Linked DNA regions of Homo sapiens: region 1 is linked to region 2. Evidence: promoter capture Hi-C in 16 types of primary human blood cells and fetal thymus (Javierre and others, 2016). All regions are on one chromosome and are shown on one strand. Each heading gives the region's core, a stretch centred on a gene start or on the middle of the fragment in contact. The rest is flanking DNA. Distances are from core to core; before and after follow the strand shown.

Evidence for each region. Contacts are between HindIII fragments. The CHiCAGO score rates a contact against its expected background, and 5 or more counts as called.
Region 1: a fragment that was not itself captured here is called in contact with the fragment with the promoter of SLC13A5 in region 2 in 1 of 17 cell types (endothelial precursors); the score reaches 7.0 in endothelial precursors.

Annotation. Positions count from the first base shown.
Region 1 is chr17:6,891,049-6,893,860 of GRCh38, reverse strand. It overlaps LOC124903908 (a long non-coding RNA gene), which reads left to right. Exons shown (of 2, transcript XR_007065597.1): 2 at 1-621. It also overlaps the pseudogene ALOX12P2. Among named protein-coding and RNA genes, the nearest start is that of TEKT1, 61 kb to the right of the region's middle. RefSeq lists an enhancer at 1-181. The HindIII fragment of the contact is 193 bases long and covers 1,417-1,609 here.
Region 2 is chr17:6,712,055-6,715,086 of GRCh38, reverse strand. SLC13A5 (solute carrier family 13 member 5) reads left to right here and starts at 1,718. Exons shown (of 12, transcript NM_177550.5): 1 at 1,718-1,855. The coding sequence starts at 1,754. The HindIII fragment of the contact is 6,998 bases long and covers 1-2,597 here.

The DNA.
Region 1 (2,812 bases), core at 264-2,763, 180 kb before region 2:
CCAGCCATAGCTGCACCAGGTTGGGAGAGCCCGCCAGGAGCAAATCCCCGGTGGCTACGCGGACCGTGTACTTGCCCATCTTGCCCGGAGATCCGGGGAGAAATCAGCTTTAAAAGGATCTGAGACCCAGCTCCCAGGGAACCACGCCCAGCCCAGAGTGGCTGTTGTATTTGGGTTTCAGGCTCCCCACCTCCCACCCACAGATTCCTCCCCGACTAGGAGGAACGCTGGGACTGGCGCCAGGCTAGGGTCTCTGTATCCAGAGTTTCTCCCGGCGGCTCTGGAAAGGGCAGCCTCACCCTTATTCACTTGGCAAACACTCCCTGATGCCAGTTTCACACCCTGCCATGAGCCAAACACAGCAGCCTACGGACGATGACAGCTAAACACTAGCTCCCACCCAATTTTGGTGAATACATAAATAAGATTGCCACGGAAGTGAAATGGCTTGATCATAGGGGTATTTTTCAATGGAAAGTTGACACTCCCCAGACACTCCTGCTCACCCACGGCTCGCCTCTCTCCTGGACCTCCTGGGCTATCGTGAACAGAAGGGCTTGAACAGCCCTTCCACCTCCTCATGTTGAAAGAGAAATAAAGGGCCATTGTGTTTTCATTGAATGGGGGTCCATAATAAGAGCTCTTCTAGGTCTTTCTTGCATAAGCTACATCCAGATGAGTTGACATTTATTTGAAATAAATGTCTAGAACCTAAAGGTTCTTGTGGGGAAAAAAACTAAATGCAGCCTCTATTTAGATCTTTACAGTTTTCTCAAAACCTTTTATAGTTGTATGGCTGACTCCTAGTCATCAAATTGACAGTGACTTTTAAAAGATTATTGTTTATGTAGTCATAAAATATTCAACTTATTTTTAAAAAATACTGGTATGTTTATACTCCTATTTCATTAGTTTGTCTATAAATTTCATCATTACAATAACAAATATAACTGATATAAACAGTTTTTTTTTCTTTTGAGACAGTCTTGCTCTGTTACCCAGGCTGGAGTGCAGTGGCATGATCTCGGCTCACTGCCACCTCCGCCTCCTGGGTTCAAGCGATTCTCATGCCTCAGCCTCCTGAGTAGCTGGGATTACAGGCGCCCGCTACCACGCCTGGCTAATTTCTTTTTTGTATTTTTAGTAGAGATGGGGTTTCACCACGTTGGCCAGGCTGGTCTCAAACTCCTGACCTCAAGTCATCTACCCACATCACCCTCCCAAAGTGCTGGGATTACAGGCGTGAGCCACTGTGCCTGCCATAAACAGTTTTGGAAGTTTACACAACTATTCTTGATAAACATAAAGCTCAACTGGTGGACATCAAAGTGCCGGGCAGGTCAGTTTTTTTTTTTGGAGGAGATGGACAGTGTCAGTCTCCTGATAAGTTGGTGATGGGTAGGTAATTTAAAAGCTTCTATTATAAAATCTAGTCTCTCTGACACTGCCCTGTCCACTGCAGTCACATCTCCCAATACTGAAGAATCCTGAGAATACGAGCGGTCATGACACTTACTCACGTCATTCACCAGTAAAACCCTCTATCCTTCCTCCTCAAAATCAGGAATGCTCTCCTATCCTCCCCATTGACCCCCACCCCTCACAAGCTTCACCTCCACTCTGTGCCCTACCATTATCCTCTAGAGCCTCAACTTCTCTTTGAAGAAGATCCTTCTAACATTTTGGCAACATATTCCCTCCACTTAACCTCTAATTCCCATTTTCAGTTTCAGTCACCGACCAGTGCAATAACAGCTTAGACTTCATTTGTCACTTAAAACTCACCTATAGTATATTACCCATTTTGTGGTTTATCCACTCAGCCCATGAGCCACTCTCCCCTTCCTGAAGGTTCTGACTGGAGAGAGAAGAAAGAGAGAGAACAATTGAGTTTCTGAGGGTTTTCCAGGTCCTGTGAAATCCAGCTCAATTCTCTTCCTTGGGTTCTGTGAGACACCCAAGCGGCTTTCCAATAAATCCCACTTTGTTGCTTAAGTTAGCTTGAAGTAGGCTTCTAGAACAATTAACTCTACCATATATAAGACAAAAAAAAATTCCTGTCAGAAGGGAATTGCAGTGAGTCTCAAGAGTTGAAGTATAAACATGAACTTGTGTTCCTTTTCTAATAACTCTTCCTTTCTCCTGAGTAGCGGTTTGCTTAACAGTTTCGTGGCCAACTCCACAATTTTCCAATCATTCTTGTTTAATAGTATACTCTTGTTTCAATATTCAAGATTGCTTCTTTTATAGCTTCCATATCAAAGTCCATTCTAGACTCATCTCCTTGCCTCCAGCCTCCTTTCCTAAACTATGTTCCTCTCCACCTGTCCTAACTCAAGCTAAACCTGTTTTTGAACCTAGAGGCTTACAGTAAAGGAGAGGGCTTATCTTTTTATCTTTTTTTTTAAAAATGAACTTTCCCTTTTTTCTCTCTCTTTGAGTCTCATATTCTCATACATCTCCTATGAAGGAAGCAAAGAGAGAATGAAGAAACCACTTAGTAAGTAGTCAAATGTATCTCTGCCATCTGCTACTGGCTACCTGTGTGAACATTATATGGTTCTTATAAGCAATGTTTGGTTTTCTTGGAGCAATGTTCAGCTTCATGCCTATCTTTGCTACCAAAAGAACTCCTTCTAGAATGAAATCCGTATTTCATCGGGACACTATCCCAACGTCATTTTCAGGTTGGATGTTCCATTGTTTAGCCTGGAGAAACTGCAGTCTGATGGTTTCTGCCCTTCTGCTAGTCTCCACGACCCTTCATATGGAGCCACAGGAATCCCTGACATGCTCTTGTTTACCCTTTAAG
Region 2 (3,032 bases), core at 469-2,968:
TAAAAATGCAAAAAATTAGCCGGGCGTGGTGGTGCACACCTGTAATCCCAGCTACTTGGGAGGCTGAAGCAGGAGATTTGCTTGAACCTAGGTGGCAGAGGTTGCAGTGAGCCGAGATCGTGCCACTGCACTCCAGCCTGGGTGACAGGAGCACAACTCTGTCTCAAACAAACAAACAAAAAACAAAAACAAGAGAAATGATAAATATTCGAGTGATAAATATGCTCATTAGCCTGATTTGAACACACCACAATTATACACACATTGAAAAATCACATGGTACCCCGTAAATATAGACAATGATTTGTCAATTAAAAATGAAATAACACTTAAAAAATAAAAAAGTAAAAAGTAAAAATTACACCAATAAATATAAGAGGTACAAATTGTGCTAAGTGCCCTGGGGACACAGGAAAGGCGGGAAAACCCAGGGCTATATGCATGAGAGTTACAAAGGGAAAAGGACAGGAGGGAGGCAATTGCAGGAGGGGCTTGGGAGAATGCATGTCCTTGGGTGCAGGTCACAGGAAGGAACTCATGAGCTTGATTCAGGATGTGTTGAATTTTCGGGCCGAGACACGTCCAGTCTGCGGAAGGCTGGACATCTGGGACTCTGGCATCATGGCTGGGTTGAAGGCAGAGGATGGTAATCACTAAGGAGCCGGCTGTGGTTAGGCCACCAGCATGGATGAGACTCCCCAAAAGGAAGCTGCAGAATGAGAGGCAGGCAGAGGAGAGGAAAGAAGAAAATCACAGAGGTGGGGATGTCTTTGCATCCGTGTGTCTCCAGTGCCCAAAACAGGGCCTCGCGGAGAAGAGGTGCTCGGCACCTGTCTGTTGCCTGGCGGGCTGAATGAATACATGGGCGACTGTCTCAGTGTCGCCTTAGTTGTGTCCCTTCCTCTCTAGAGCTCCGTTTCCCTCTGACCTGGGTCGGGCGGGCAGCTGCGGCTGCTGAGGCTCGGTGGGGCCCCTCCAAGACGCGTGTCCGCATCTGCCCGCCGGGCGTCTGCGGGGTGCAGCGTCCACTGGAGCGCGACAGCCCCTGGGACAGAGGAGGACAGTGGCCTCGCTTCCCTGTGCGATCGCCCAGGAGCTCCGGGCCGGAGAGTGCGAGCGGGGAAAAGGGGTCCTGCACCTAGAGTGGGGCGGACGTGGCGAGGAAGCCAGGGGGGACCGGGAAGCGAGGCCCGCGGTGCGGAGGGCGCGGGGCGTGGGGGGACACCTCTCGGAGAGACACCGGAGGGGCGGAAGTAAGGAGATGGAAAGGAGAGGGAGATCGGGGAGATAGACCTGAGAGACCCAGAGGCCTGCAGAGAGTTTCATCCGGGACCCTTCAGAGCCCAGGAAAGAGCAGATGCGGACGCGGGAGGGCGCCTTACGCCAAAGCGGGCAGCACCAGTGACCAAAACACGCCCCGCTTGGCAGCCCCGGGACGCACCTCTGCCTCGGCAGCGCAGGAGAGGCTTGGACAGCGCGAGATGCTAGGGCCCAGGCTGCCCCTAGAGGGCTGGCCCGAAGCGTTGGAGTCCAAAGACGCCTCCCACCGCCGCCGGGTGGCAGAATTGGGGGCAGGCGCGTCCCACAGACCCCGAGGGGTGGCCCCGCCCCAGGGCCGCGGGGAGGCGCCCCCGTGCGGGGCGGAGTTGTCACCGCCCCCTCCCCAATCCCCGGGGACTGTGGCCCCTTCTTAAGCCCGCGGCGCCTCTAGCTGCCCCTCACTCGTCTCGCCCGCCAGTCTCCCTCCCGCGCGATGGCCTCGGCGCTGAGCTATGTCTCCAAGTTCAAGTCCTTCGTGATCTTGTTCGTCACCCCGCTCCTGCTGCTGCCACTCGTCATTCTGATGCCCGCCAAGGTCAGTTGCATCTCCAGGCAGCCCTTCGGACACCCGGCGTCCTGTGCCCACTAACGGGCACCGATCCCGGGAGCCCTGAGCTGGAGCGCACGGATTTCGCGGGGAGCACAGCTCTCCCGGGGCGCGCGCACTCAGGAGCTCCAGGTGCCGGATGGGAGGTGCCCTGTAAAGAATCTGAGGGGCATGGCGACCCCAGGGCGCACCACCCTTGGGGTTTACAGATCCCAGGGCGCAAGAGCCGTCCAGGCAAGCACGGAAACCTCGAAGTGAGCACAGATCTCAGCCACACAGATCCCAGCCTTAGGCTCAGCCCCTGGCTCCGAATCGAATCTCCCACAGTGCATAACCCTGTTTCCCCCCAAAATGCCACCTGCGCCAACAGGGAACCTGGGAGCTTGCCTTTCCCTCTCTCTCTCCTGTCTTTTCCCTTCGCCAAAGAAGACTTCAAGCTGTAGGTGGCTTCTGCCGTCAGGAGGGACCTACAGGAAAAAAATCATCACCCACGTGGATCCTGCGCTGTCTTTGCCACTCTCTGGCCCTTCCTTGGGCCTTAGTGTCTCTATCTATGATCCACATTCCTTCCAACCTGGAGAGCCACATCTGATTCATAATCCTGCTCCAGGCTGCAGGCAGGTTGGGGTTGGCCTGCTTTGCCTCCTGCCTGCTGGGGCTGTAGCAGGAGGCGGGACACATTCCCAGAGCTCGCGCCTTGGGTGGCAGGACCTGGAGTTGCAGGGAAGCTTCCTCCCAGGCCCTAGTCTCCTAATGCTTCTGTGAGGGAGAGAGAGAATGAATGGCCTTGGCCGCAGGGTGGGCGCAGGCTCCACTGGGCTGTGCACAGCCAGTTTGGCGGAGGCCCAAGCCCTTTGAAGCCTTTTGTGGCTGCTGGCTGCTCCTTCCTCGTTCCTTCTTTCAGCCCTTTCACTCTCAGCCCAGACAGGAAACCTCCAGCTCCCCACCTCCCCTCCCCAGGCAGGTTTGGGAAACAGAGGAGCTCTTCAGGGGATGCTCTGGGGGGGAGCTCTAGAGGAAGGGAGTGCACTGGGGTGTCAGGAAGCCAACCTGCAAGAGAACTGGACTTCCACCATTCTGTCATCTGTGTGACTTTAGCCAAGTGCCTGTGCTCTCTGGGCCTTGGTGTTCTCATCTGTACAATGGGGCTAGGTGGTTTGGTTCT